Regions from separate parts of the Homo sapiens genome. Here region 2 is linked to region 1. Evidence: promoter capture Hi-C in human tissues and cell types (Jung and others, 2019). All regions are on one chromosome and are shown on one strand. The core of a region is centred on a gene start or on the middle of the fragment in contact, and the rest is flanking DNA. Distances in the headings are between cores, read along the strand shown. Region 1 holds the start of CSRNP3 (cysteine and serine rich nuclear protein 3). Region 2 overlaps CSRNP3 (cysteine and serine rich nuclear protein 3).

Region 1 (7,592 bases), core at 2,061-4,560:
TAATGTCATCAGTGTTTATGCTGAAAGTGCTGTCACTGAAGTGCTTTGCTCGTGTTAATTGATAAAAACAAAATACTTCCCACCATCTTAGCTTTTTTTGAAAATAACGTACTGACATGCCAAATTAATTTAACTTTAAATAATATGTTGGCTACATATTAAATATTTTAACACGTAGTTTAAGCATGTGGTGCTTTATTTGCTACATTGCTAACATTGAATCTAATAGACTAAGGTTAATATTATGAAAATAAAGTATGATATGTCACAAATATTTAAATGAGTTGTAAAGAGAAAATAAGAGTTAGGAATCTCATCTGAATTATAACAAAAATAATAGGAAAGCTGTTAACAGCTTTATGATGATTTTTCCTCTTAACAAATAGCTGAGAGATTTGAAAAAAATGGTGTATGGGATGACAGTGCTGCCTTTGAAGCATGTAATTTTATAATAAAAATGTTTTAAATTAAGGAATTGCCTAGGGTAGAATATGATGATAATTGTGATTTTTTTTTGTATAGAGAAAAGCTACATAAAAGTAATGTTTATTTTCAAAGAAAGCAAAAATGTTTCAAATAAAGCAAAAAGGATATATGTGCATTTACAGTGATTTATATTAAATTTTAAATTAATTACCTTAACATTAACACAAATAGCTTTTAGGTTGTTGGAATGTGTAATTTTTTATACATATTAAATAGATTACAAAGGTAAGGAAATAATTGCATTAATGAAACATGGTTTGGACGTTAAGTTTAAAAAATTCTTATTCTAATGTCAAAATGTGTATTGAATGCTCCTCACTATCCATAGCCTGGACATATACCAAGCTTCTCTCTTTATGATTAAAGTGATTGATACATTAAAAAATACTTCTTAATTTATTGTATTATTCATTATATTGCAAACCACTGCAAACATAAAGAGAAAAAGGAAAGAGTGTTGTGAAAAGGGGACAAAGCTGTATATAGTGAGCTCCATTAAAAACCTACATTTAAATCTTAAAAATGTTTGTACCAAAGGAAAAAAAAATGGTGATGCCTTCCCATTTCTCACTGAAAGCCTTACATGGTTTTCATTTGCCTTGTTTCATCCTTCACTTGGACAGTAACCTCTTAACTGTTTTCTTTCATGCTTTTTTTTTCTCTCTTGTCTCCACTCCAGCACACATTCTCTCTCTCTCTCTATCTCTTCCTGTGGACTCTGCAGTAAAAGCTACCCCAGTTGTCTCATTTTTATAAGACTTGCAGACGTCTGCCAGTGGCTGATAGGAAATGCTGATTGAGAAAGGGTTTATCTACTTTTCATCCAAAATATGTGAACCATTAAGGAAATTATAAAAAGCAGCAACAATATACTCTGGTTTTATTCAGTCCTCTCCCTTAGTGATTATTAAAAGGGTGATATTTTTAGCCAAAGAAAGCAAAATGCATCTGCAGCAGCTGGTTTCCAAGGAAACAGAATAATTTAAAACCATGTGGAACTCTGCTCTCTAATTTTCATCAATTCCCCTTCATTCCTGGAGGTAGCTTTACTCAGAATTTATAATTTCTAAAAAATATAGCTGCATTGATTTATTTCCTCTAATACATTTTAGGAGATGAATATCTGGTCTTATATATCACCTTGAATTTCAATCTTGGGGTGAGGGGTGGATTAATTTCAACCATTGTTTTGCTTAAAAAAACAAAATCGGAAAGATCCATCAATAATTAGAAACATGCCAAAATTTCAGTATTATGTAATAATTTTTGAAATCCAGAAACAGTTCAAAATCAACCATACCAGAATATTTACTTGGTTCATTATGACACTTAACCATATAAACATGTTATTAACTATATTTAGTACTTTTAGGAAATTTAAGGTAATTCTCAATTCATTTAGATAATCCATACTAATATTCAGCAATTTTCTCACTCATTTTAATTTTCCAAGAACTATTATATTTGTGTCTGTTTATTCAAAGACAAAATCTCTCAAACAAAAAAAGTACAATAAATAAAAAAATTTGAAAAACAATAAACAAAAAGAAAAACAATAGCAAAAAATATTTAGAAATTATATAGTCATTCCTATTAGTTTTGATTCATTCAAAAAGGTATTAAAATATGTAGGAACAAATTATTTACCTCATTGAAAGACTTTTATTTTATTATTATAATCAACAGGTATTAATCGATGGCCAGTGTACTGAAGTCAGTCATAATTCTTGAAAGTTCAATTTTAATGAGGTTCTACCACCGTTAAATGACCTGTATTTATGAATTAAAGTAAAGAATTAAGTGACTGGGAGTTCAGTTTTTTTGTATGTTTTTACTGCAAGTGTGTTATTTATTCTACATACTTAGAACTTGTCCCTTTTTTCCCTAAGGCAATATAAAGGACCATATTAGGAGATACAAGCACCTAGTAAAGTTGCTAAAAAAAAATTGCCTAGAGATATTATCAACAATATAAATGCTCTGATGGAATTCTTATCTAGATGTGTTTGACTGATAAATTAAACTACCCATGAAACATGACTGTTAAGATGCTATTTTTTACAGCAATGTTTAATCTTTCAAAATTAGGTTTCTGTGCTTTAAAATAAAAATGGCTCCATGTAAGTTAACAAGTAGAGACAAACCATTGTTTAATTATCACATAAGCTTAAAGTTTGCTGAATAAAATAATGCAAATATTGAACAACATGAGATTTATCAAGAGGAGTAAGTTAAATAACAGGGCTTAAATGCACACAAATCATTCATTCTAAATTAATGCTAAAAGAGTCTACAACCTGCAAAAATAGTTTTCCTAAGCCTTTTACTGTATTGTCAATATTAAAAGCCATCACATGAAATTTTATATTGTATATTCACAGAAGGCTCCATTTTCTCAGGACCTGTGGAATTTACCGAGGTTTTCTCATCCTTCCTGCGATTCCTAGTAACAAGCTTGAATTAAACATTTTTGAAGAGACACATGATGATTCATTTTATCTATTAATTTTGCTTCAGTGACACTTGCATAGAAAGTTATTTAGGATAAGACATGCCTCTGGTGATTGTTTTGTTTTGTTTTTAATCAGCTAAGGATTTTGCAGAGAGAAAGAACAGCAAGCTCATTGCAAAGCTTCCTCAAGTAATAAAAGGGACACACTTTCAGAAAATGTCCTCAGAATAATTTTCCTACTATAAAATTGTTTCCGTAAAAATTAAGAAGCATTCTCTTTTAAAGAAAAAAAGAATTCTCTTTTCTTTTTTTTTATTTTTCGCTCTTACCTGTAAATATGGTTTCTGTACTTCGGCTCCGTCAGAACACACTGAAGAGAGTACACTCCTCCCTCGTCTATCCATCAGGCGGCAGCCAACCAATAACAAAAGCCAGATCCTGGCATTCTCTAGCTCATGCTCCCTGCTTTGCTTCCATTTCTTGTTCCCTCCCACCTCCACTCTTTTAGAGGACGAATCCCTGCAGCTGGGAGAGAGGAAGCGAGTGGAGAAAAGAAATATGGAGAGAAAAGCAGAGATGCAAGATATTTCAAAAAATAGCTCCCAACTATGGAAAATGTCTGCAGATGACCTCAGCTGAAGTAAAAAGTCTTGCTTTGGATTTAGAAAAATAAAGTTAATCAATGCCTCACCTACCTGAAATCAAAGCAAAATGCTCATAGTAAAACCTAGGTAAATTGCCTGTTTTTTAGTTCCCACTGATTTTTCTCAGTGAAAAAAGTGTACCTCCTCATTATACATTTTGATATGCAGACAGAGGAGGGAGACTGAACATCAAGATGACATTTTGCATATTCAGTTTGCAAAGAGATAGAATTAAAATGAATCAACACCCTTTATACTTATGTTTTATATTATTTGCACTACAACCTCTGTTTGACAATGTTTTCATTCAAACGCAGTTTCGAGGCCTAATCAGTATGAAAAATATTTCATTCTGAGCATTAGAATATTCAAATATTTCACAGTTATGTGGTTTGCATTACTTCAGATTCCTTAAATGCCATCAATTTGTGAATAATGGAACTTATTAAAGATTAAAAAGAGATCAGTCACTTGGTTGCCATGCCTCAAAGTGACCAGCTGAACTCCAATTTTATTCTAATAAACTTAAACAAAAATCATTTCACTTCTGAACCTAGAGGCATAACATGCATTAAAGGACAGTTAAAGAAAACACCAAATTAGGATTTTTTAAGGCAATAAAGCAAATTCATCCAGTTTCAAACAGTTTAATTTTTAAAATACTGTAATACAAACCAGGGATCTTTATGATAAAAATTCTCTCAATTGAGCTTCCTCTAGTGGAGGTGGTCTGAAAAATTTCCTTAGAAAGACATATACAGTAGATATCACCACTATAGAGGTATGTACTGGCTACTTGAGGTATTTATAAGCCTTGCTCTTCAATTTCTTAAATCAGTAATGTGTCCTCATGGGAATAAGGCCAAAGGGAGTAAAATTAGAGGGAAGGGCAAGCAAGCATTCTTTAAGAGTTACTGGCATGGTGGCAAATCATTAGTCCAGGAATATCTGTACAGGAAGGGCTTGGGGTGTCAATATTGTTAGGAAAGGAATGGCTGGTGACTTAAACTGATACTAACTTTAGATAGGAGTGCACTGATTTTGCTTAGTTTGCACTGTTATTTAGAGTAGCTTTGGGAGGCTCTGCTAAAGATTATGGGGAAGACTAAACTATCGCTTATTCCCACCGCCAAGTCCTCTGTTGTGAAAAATGCTTTCAAAGCCTTTGTGGTCCTATTGCTAGGAATAACTGGAGGAATCCCTAGGACAGACAGCATTTTTAGAAATAGTTGTTCGGGGCCATCTTCATCAGAACCACTAGGGGAAGATTCATTAAAAATGCAGGTTCATGGGCCTCCTCCAGATTTAATGAATAAGCATTTGAGGAGTTTCTGACTCAGCATTTTTAGCAAGCTCTCCCAGGTGATTTATATGTCAAGTGTGATTGTAGACAGAGACTTGTAGGCAAGTATTTGCAGGGCACAAATTCTAACCAGATTTCTTCTGTTTAGATGATGATGCCATTGTCTCAGAAAAAAAAAAAAAAGAGAGATTTAGAGATTTGGGAACAAAATAACAAAATTAATTTGAACGTTTTGAACTTTTTGGATATCCAGATTAAAATATTAAATAGTCAGTTAAACTCATAAATAAGGCTGGGATGTAGGTTCAATTTGGAACCCCCAGCATCTAGGGTTCGGTTAAAGTAATGAAAATAAATGAGCACCCTAAGGGTTTAATATAAAAATTTTATAAAGAACTCATAAAACTTAACAGTGGAAAAACAAACCCAATACAAAATGGACAAAAGGCCCAAATAGACATTTCTCCAAAGAAGACATAAAAATGGACAACAGGTTTATGAAAATATGCTCAGCATCACCAATCCTCAGGGCAATGTAAATCAAAATTACTAAGAAATACCACCTCATATTTATTAGGACGGCTGTTATCAAAATGTCTGCAGATAAATGTTGGAGAGAGTGTAGAGAAAAGAGTACTCTTGTACACTGTTGGTGGGAATGTCAACTGCTACAGCATTATGAAAAACAGTATGGATGATTGTAAAAAAATTAAAAATAGAACTACCATATGATCTAGCAATCTCTCTTCTGGGCATATACTCAGAAGTGGAATCACAACTTTGTAAAGATATCTGTATTACCATGTTCATTGCAGCATTATTCACAATAGCCAACATATGGAAACAACTTAAGCATTCATTGATGGACAAGGGGATAAAAATGTGGTACAAATACACAATGGAATATTATTCAGTCCTAAAAAATAGATCTTGCTTTTTGCCACTATGTAGATGAGCCTGGAGGACATTATGCTATGTGCTATAATCCAGACACAGAAATATTGCCTGGTCTCACTTATATGCAGAATCTTTGTAAAAAAAAAAATCAAATATATAGAGATAGAGAACAAAACAGTGATTACCAGAGGCAGGGACTGGGGGTATGGGAAGATGTAGGTCAGAGGATACAAAGAAGCATATATATATATATATATATGTATGTGTGTGTGTATATGTGTGTATATATATATATATATGATGAACAAGTCTAGAGATCTAATGTACAACATGAGGACTACAGGTAATGAAATTGTACTATGGGTTTCATGTAAAATAAGTAGATGTTAGCTACTCTTACCACAAAAACAACAAAAAAGTATAGCTATATGAAATGATGGATATGTTAGTTTGCTTCACTATAGCAAACTTTTACTAATTAAATATATATAAATATTGTGTTTAAGATAATATGAGGTTATGACATACATCGTGTTTAATTAAGACAATATGAGGTTACGTATGCCATATTTATATACATTTATTTTTTAAAAAAGAAAAACATCTTTAGCAGAATTAAAAATGCTGACTAAGAGACTCCACCCCATACCTACTGAATCAGAACCTTTGGAATGAAGCTTAGGGAGCTCCATTTTGATAACATTTTTCAGCTGACTTCCTTTGTACACTAAAGTTTGAGAATCATCACTCTAGGAAGAGGAGAAATAAGTTGAGAATGAAACTCAGGGAATTTACTTACCTTTAAAGAACAAGCAGAAAGCAGAATGAAGAAAAGATGCTTAGGAGGAACAGTTAGCGAGGAGGGAAGCCAGGAGAGAATGGTGTAGCAAAACCCAAAGGAGTAGAGAATTTCAGGAAGGTGAACGATTATGGTGAGGGCTAATGCCTTGCTATTCAAAGTGCAGTCCACTGATTCCAGCTTAGACATCTCATGGGAGCTGGTTCTAATGCAGAATCTCAGGCCCCACCCCAGTAAACTGAATCACAATCTGCATTGTAACAAGATCCACAAGCACACTCAAATTTTAGAAACATTGTTGTTACCTATGAAATTTGCAATTTGGTTCTTGGTGAACTGACAGTGAACAGTTTCAGTGGAGTGGTTGGGGTAGGGCAGGATGACTGCGGTGGTTGGAAAAACAGATGGAAGATAAAGAAATGGAGACAAGTACAGTGCTTTATATACACCCAGAACAAGGGTCTTCTAGCAAACACACTCATCACCAGACCATCTTTTCAATTCAGAGAAACAGAATAGGAGCAGAGGCAGAAAGTGAGCCTTGCTTGCTGCTGCAGGTCTCTACCTTACACCACTCATCAGACAGGCGTGACATGATGGGAATATCACAGGCTGATATTGATAGAGGGAGATGCTTTCCTAAGGAGCAGTGACAGTCAGGCCTTTGATGGCCACGGGAGCTCAGCTGCATGTTGCCTTGTTTGCCTGAAGCAAAGGTAATAGACCGTCTGAGAGTGTGTCTGAGTGACTTTAAAAATCTTTCATAACAAGAGAAATATTACAAAATTTCTAAAGGTTAAAATACCCTAAATTAAATAATAAAATATTCTTTAAAAGCTGAAAATAGAAATAAGCCTAAAGAGTAACATAATGGACAACTTTTAAGAAAGTCCAAAATTAGAGCAGGTTGTAATAGGAAGGGATTTCAATATGTTATGTATTAATTAAGTGAAGTTTCTTCCATTGAGCTGTAGAGGTAAGGTTTTGGGATAATATAATGACCACTAAGGA
Region 2 (6,866 bases), core at 4,213-6,712, 69 kb before region 1:
GCTCCTGCCTGACAGCCATTGCTTTAATTCTTCCTTTTTCCTGGAGCACTATTTCTCCAGATGACTCCTTGGCTACCTGCTCAATTTCTTTCAATTCTTTTCCTCTCTTAGTAAAGCCTAATGTGTCCAGTCACTCTGCCCCTCTACTCTGTACCTCAGATTCCACTTACTTAGTTCCAGTTTTATTTTATTCCATATCACTTTCTAACATACTATATGATATTCTGTATATTTTACATATACAGAATATATATTATATTCAAACATTGTGTGTGTATATATATATATAAAATATACAAACATAATATAATATTTCATTAACCTTGTCTATCTCTCGTCACTAGAAAGTTAAGATACTGGAGGGCAAGTGTCTTGATCTCTTTTTTTATTGATGTGTTCAAGGCCCTAGAAAAGTGCTTTGCATATAGTTGAAGCTCAGTCATATTTATTGAATGACTGGAAACCACTGATTTTATTGCAACTTCAAAATAAGCTAAATCCTTTGAGGAGATGGATACCCCATTTTACGTGATGCTATTATTATGCATTGTATGCCTGTATTGAGACATCTCATGTACCCTATAAATGTATACACCTACTATTAGTATGTGCCCATGAAAATTAAAAATGAAAAACTAAGCTAAATCCTAGTATTATAACCAACTTCTACATTCCTTAGCAGAGTATTAACATAATCTTGAAAAAAAGAAAAGAATTTAGTTTGATGATTGAGATGTCTTATTCCTCATCTCCCATGCCAAATTTTTAAAAATAGATAGAAAACAATGTATTTGAACTTTAAAAGCTTCAACTAAATAATATTGGAAATGTGGTAATAACTATTTATCCAGTTTCAAATCTTATTAATATATCATTTAAATGTTCATAAGATTGTAGGTAAATATGTTTAACTTTTATGTTTCTGTCTTTACTAGCTAAATGTATTTTTAATTTGCATGCCATGGTTACAAGAAATTTTCTTTTATTAATTAAAAAAGTAAACAAATTAGATTAAAATATCATTAATAAAAGAATAACAATGTAAAAATACATGAACAGCTTAGAGAAGAGCTCTGCAGTCCAGATAGATGTCTGGTATAGTTAAGGAAGACAGATGAGGCAACCTGGTCTAGTAAAGTAGAAGAAAATCCCAAGGCCTCAAATTAAGTGTGAGTCAATGGATACTTCAGCCATCCCAGGAAGCCAGCTAACTGTCACCCTCAGTCTACTCAGGAGAGGACACAGCCACATGACATATTTCAACTGATAATAAGAGCCAACTACTTGCTTGATCTATCTCAGAGGAGAATGAGAGTCTACTGCTACTTACGCAACCACAGATTCTCAGTAAATTCAGAAAAAAATTGGGATTTGCTACTTCATATTTCATACAGACTTAACATCAGAGATCTTGAGAGCTGTGAATATTCCTACATAATCGTGTCTATTCCAATGTAAAAATTCTATCACTAAGAGAGAATACTATGATAACTTGCAAGTAGAATATACAAGATGAATTTCCATTGATTTGGCATTTCTTATCAAAAGTCTTAAAATTAATTTTTAGGAATTTATACAGAGAGAATAATCATACATGTATTTAAAGATTTAACTTTACAGATCACTATTAATAGTGGGCAAATATAAAAACCTTACTATTCAGTAATAAGGAATTGATCATACATTTTGATACATCCATACAGTATAATATTATGCAGCTATTAAAATTATGAGGTCATTGGATATTTTCATGATATAGTGAAGGTGCTCACAAACTATTGACAACTTAAAAAAGTAGTTTACATTATATTATGAATTGTTGGAGCCCTTTTGTTTATTATATGTTTATGTACATATATGCTTACACTCATACGTACACACGTACAGACATGCATCTTCACCAATGCTGACAAGGTATGCACTAAACAGTGAGTTTTAAGTGATTCCTAAGCACTAGGAAATAATCTGCAAAAAATTGTGTATGGGCATTTTTCTTTCGAAAGCTTCATCTAATTCTCAAAGGCCTGGTTCTCAAGCTTTTGACTTTCTCCATGCCATTTACTGGCACAGATCAGTCCCATCAGTGATATTCAGCATTAGGCAAACTAGTTTCCCAGAGAAGGAAATGCTAGGAATATTAGGATGTGCTAGGTAAGTGAGGATGAAGTATCAAAAGTTCTGGAAGTCAATGCACAGTTTGAAAAACCATGTTTGAAAATTCTAATGATTCCTCAAAGGTTGTGACAGTACATTTAGTTACTGTTCAGCATGGACAGTGCTGTGGTGAACAGAGTTTCAATTTCTAGACCTGGCTAAGATTAGTTTCCTCATTAATAAGAAGGCAATTTTGGTCTCTACCTATGTGATCTTATTTTTAGGACATGATAAAAATAATTAGAAAACTATAAACTCTGTAGAAGGGAATTGTTGGCTGTATACCCCATTACCTTAGCAAGTATGAGCAGTCACCCTACACTGGGGTGATCAAGGCTTGTGCCTTCATTAAGTGTATGACAGGAGAGATAGAAACAACTGCTCAGATCTTGACACCAGGTTCTAACAGTGGAATGAGCTGATCATGGGTGTGAGGTCTACAGTGGTCACATGAGAGTTTAGGAGATATTGTATAATTGCATTTAGATTTGTGTTCTCTATAGGCAGAGATTATCTAATTCACCTTTGTATCCCACGATGTGTGTCACCTGGGTTGGCTGTCCCTCAGGGCTCTAAAGTGGAGAGAGAAGAACCTGTGCTATAAATGGGCAGAAAACTTTGAAGGCAGGCACCACCCATTATGTGGTAGAGAGACCTCCAGCTTCAAGTCATTTTGAAGTAGCTGAAGACAGAGGAGAGAGGCCTTAGGACAATCTGTGTCCTATGGGACGACCTCTGTAGTGCTCAGGAGCCACTGAGGGACAGAATTCTAGGAGCCATATGAAAAGTGATCGAGTAAAGAATAAAACAAAAGGGTCTTTCCTTTATGAACTTGTATAATATCCAATATGTGAATTATCCAATTAAAAAAGAACCTGGAAGTCCTTCCTCACTGTCTAAAAAAAAAAAATGCATTTGGTGTAGAGGATATGATTACATAGCAGCTATTCAGGTAGAGAGAGAAGGGCAGAAACTCTAGATGGGGATTGAGCTAGAATTCGAACTACAAACAGTAACTGACCCTTCAGGTAAATACTCAAATAAAATAGGTTGATTGTTTGGTGGTATATAAAATATTGACTCTAAGCTCAAGCAGTTGGGGCAATACAAGACGTTATAATGTAAAATTTTCTTTGGAAGGCCATACTCTTCAGAGAAAACCCCGCCATGTAAAAATATTTGATTTTTACAAATATATACAAAATGTTCCTGGGAAGTTATTTCTAGATGCATAAATTACACAAATTACCCAGAAACTATATTAAAGATAAATAGAGAAGGACTACCAAACTACCAGGTACAGAAGATGGATGGTCCCTTCCAGACAGGGCCATCCAGGCAGGTGAATTACCCCTCTAGGTCACTAGAACCCAGAGTTCAGGCTTTAGAAATTTAGACTAAACTGGTAATTCAGAATGTAACCAGAATCTTACAGGGACAAGCCAGCAGGGATTCCTGGGGAAAAAAAAGAACTGGTGCCATAAAATGGGAAAGATCAATGTGGTGTGTTGTGGAACACAAGGAATGTCTGCATGAGTCTCCAGGGCTTAGTGTGCAGAGAATAGTGAAGAGAAGCTGACTTCACAGTTAAGCTTTCGAAGGAGATAAGGAGGAGACTGCCTTGCCCAGCAGTAGAGCACAGACAAGATCGCAGGTATTAATTATGTTTCTCATAGAATTAAGATAATTTTAAAGGTAAAAATAAAGACTTGCAAGTTACTGGGTAAAAGACTACCAAATAGAGGAAAAGAGAAACTTTATAAGCTTCTGTCTCAGAGAGAATATCAACTTACCCAATATTGTTTACACTAGTGGAAATGTCAAACACTGGGCTGCAAACAAAAATTAAAACACTACCAGTACACTGAATTTAACAATAAAGACAGGGAGTAATTTGCCAAGGCAAGCCACTGGAGCAAATAATATAAACAAGTTCAACAGCCTATTCAATGCATTTTAGAGCAAAAGAGAGGGAGAACTGGTTGCTTGCCAACACCTTGCCTCAGTGAGACATGCACTCTGCTATCCAGGAATAGTAATAGGTTAGAGGTTTGGGCTGGAGAGTCTTGTCACTTCATGTCATTTTATTGGGGATGGACTACAGGTCAATCACTACTGGCATTTTATCCTTTGGGTTTATTTGTACATTAACAGCAATTCTGATGTTTTCCCAAGTTCAAGGAGTAGTCTTCACCTGTAGATTTATTCAGATTTCCAGGACCTCTAGTTTCTTAGAATTTGCTCCAGCATAGCTGCTAACAAACACCCTTAGCAAAAATCAGTCTTACATGAAAATTAAAATAATTCAGGCACAGAATTAAATTAATTCTGAAAATTTACACCACTTTTATACCAGCGATTATTACTGTTATTCTTACTTCTGACTTTTTGCTTATTGTTAACTGTATCTCTAGCAGGCAGCCACTTGGAGTGCAAATATAAATTCACGTTGATTTAAATAAAAAGGTCGCAGAAAGAGAGGAGTGGAAAATGAATTAAAAAGTCATCATCAAAATGCATTTATTAAGCATCTTTTTATACATCAGCTGTTCAAGACACACTGTAAATTATGGAACAGACTAAAGCCTTTGTTCTCTTTAAGTTGTTAATCAAAAACATCTAGAGGAGCTATGCAAAAATGTTTAAAATACATAGCCATTAGGGGAAAATAATCAAATATTGGAAAACAATAAAGGAAGCTTTTATATGTCAGGTAAAAAGTCAGCTCATTCTGGCGTGAGGGGAAAAGTAGGTGTGTATATGACTGGGAAGAAAATCAAGTAGGTTAGCCATGAAAATTCAGTGTACTAGCTGGGCAGAGTGAAAGAAAAAGCAAATTCTTGTCTATTCCTGCTTCCCTATCAGACGAGGCATATTGGACTTACATGAAGCCACAGAGTAAAAACAGTGCATATTGATCTGTCAGTTTTACTAAAAATACTTAGAGAAAATGCTTTAAGTAATCAAAATATTATCTTGTATTACAACAAACATAAATATACCATCAGGTTGAATGCAAAGGGTTGCATAAATTTTAAAGAAAACGATAAGACTTAATGAAAATTTTGACCCTGTCTTGGTTGCTTAAATAACATCGTACTTTTTCAATCCACTATTCCAGAATAACTCATGCTTCCTGTAGCATGAGATATCGTTAGGAGTATTTCTTTTCCAAATGTGGAAAATAGAAAACTCTCTCTGTATTTGTGGTGATAGAATTGTTAAACATAGTTTTTACTACTTGAAAATTGGCAAAACAGGTACCTAGGAATGGCAAAATGCAAGATGCTTCATAAGTGAGAAGTGTATCTCTAAGACAGTGTTCACAAGTGTATTGCTACATGCCAGAAAATATGTCAAGACTCAATGCAAAGATAAATAATTTCATTATTTAATTAAGAGGGGGAGGAGGCACTTCAACAGAAAGTAAGGGAATAGAATATCTATTTCTATTACTGGAGATGACTATGAAAAAAATGGGAGAAATGTCAAGGCAAGATACTAGGGAAGATGCCATTGAAAATGTCAATAATTCATTTCAAAAGCAATTCCACACAATGGCTCTTTCAGTCCATATGGAAATAAGAAAGAGATATGTCCTTTCTTCGCCATGAGTTGTGAGAGACTGGATGGAAGTGGGGACACTGGGTAAATGGGATAGAATACGCACCTAGCTAGTTCATGAAGTATACGGGAAAGGAGAGGCAGCAGATATAATCTTCAAAGAAGGAGAAAGCTAGTGAGAATCACGAAGGTATCACTGAAAATTAGAATCCCACAGCCTCAAAATGGCCTGTCCCACTTTCCTACTGGTTTTGGGGAAAATAGCACAATTAGAGACAGGGTGGTATGTAGTAGTAATAATAATTAATAATAATAAAAGGAATTATACAAAGTGTCATGGGAATTGCACATAAGAAAAGCTTAATTAACTGGATTTCTCTCAGGGGTATTTTTATATGCAGATATTCCTGTGTTGTGGGATGAATAATCTTGCCTCTTTAAGGAATTGTAGCCACCAGTGAACTGCTGAAGGTACTGCTGGAGCAGTGGGTCCTTGCTAATAATGCTAAAGATACAGGCCAACTCTGTTTTCTTTCTTTATCCACAAACACTCTAGTTTTACTTTTCTCATCTGTCCTCAGGAGCTGAAGGGAAAAAAAAAGCTCAGTAGTTTCATCAAACAGGGGCTACCTCTTCTTCATTTAAGATTCTCAGTGCCTGTGCACATGGTAGACAATAAATGTTTCTGAATTGAACAAATCAAAAAGAAAATGGAAGGCAAGTGGTAAATCTAGGTCATAAATTTAATTAAGGTAAGGAAAAGAAACTCTAAGATCAATACAAAGAGAAGAAAATAGAAATGGGAGTGTAGAGAAAGGGAAAAGCAAGAGAAAAGAAGTATGATAACTTGAAAAGGACACAGTTACAGAAAAGAAAGTTTGGAGTGAACAATATAATGATATTTCTTTGATGTACTATAAATGAAATTTTTAAAAAAATTGTGAGCTCTCTGACAGGAGGTGTTACACTCTGAATAATTGCTAATAATTCTTAACAAATCAATGTAAAGGTAATAATAATTTTTCCATTTACACTTATAAAACTGACACATTAATTGATGATAATAAAACCTTTTCTTTGAGCTACTTATAATATGACATTGATTTGATAGATCAGATAAATAGCCTTCATTATATATCTAGGATGCA

Evidence for each region. The method cuts DNA at HindIII sites, captures the fragments that hold promoters and counts their contacts. A contact is called where the count stands out against the background at its distance.
Region 2: a fragment that was not itself captured here is called in contact with the fragment with the promoter of CSRNP3 in region 1 in 2 of the 25 tissues and cell types used here (hippocampus and mesenchymal stem cells).

Annotation. Positions count from the first base shown.
Region 1 is chr2:165,465,416-165,473,007 of GRCh38, reverse strand. It overlaps CSRNP3 (cysteine and serine rich nuclear protein 3), which reads right to left and starts at 3,310. Exons shown (of 7, transcript NM_001172173.2): 1 at 3,268-3,310. The HindIII fragment of the contact is 6,911 bases long and covers 1,743-7,592 here.
Region 2 is chr2:165,537,421-165,544,286 of GRCh38, reverse strand. The region is part of intron 3 of CSRNP3 (cysteine and serine rich nuclear protein 3); the gene reads right to left. Among named protein-coding and RNA genes, the nearest start is that of CSRNP3, 71 kb to the right of the region's middle. The HindIII fragment of the contact is 3,259 bases long and covers 3,833-6,866 here.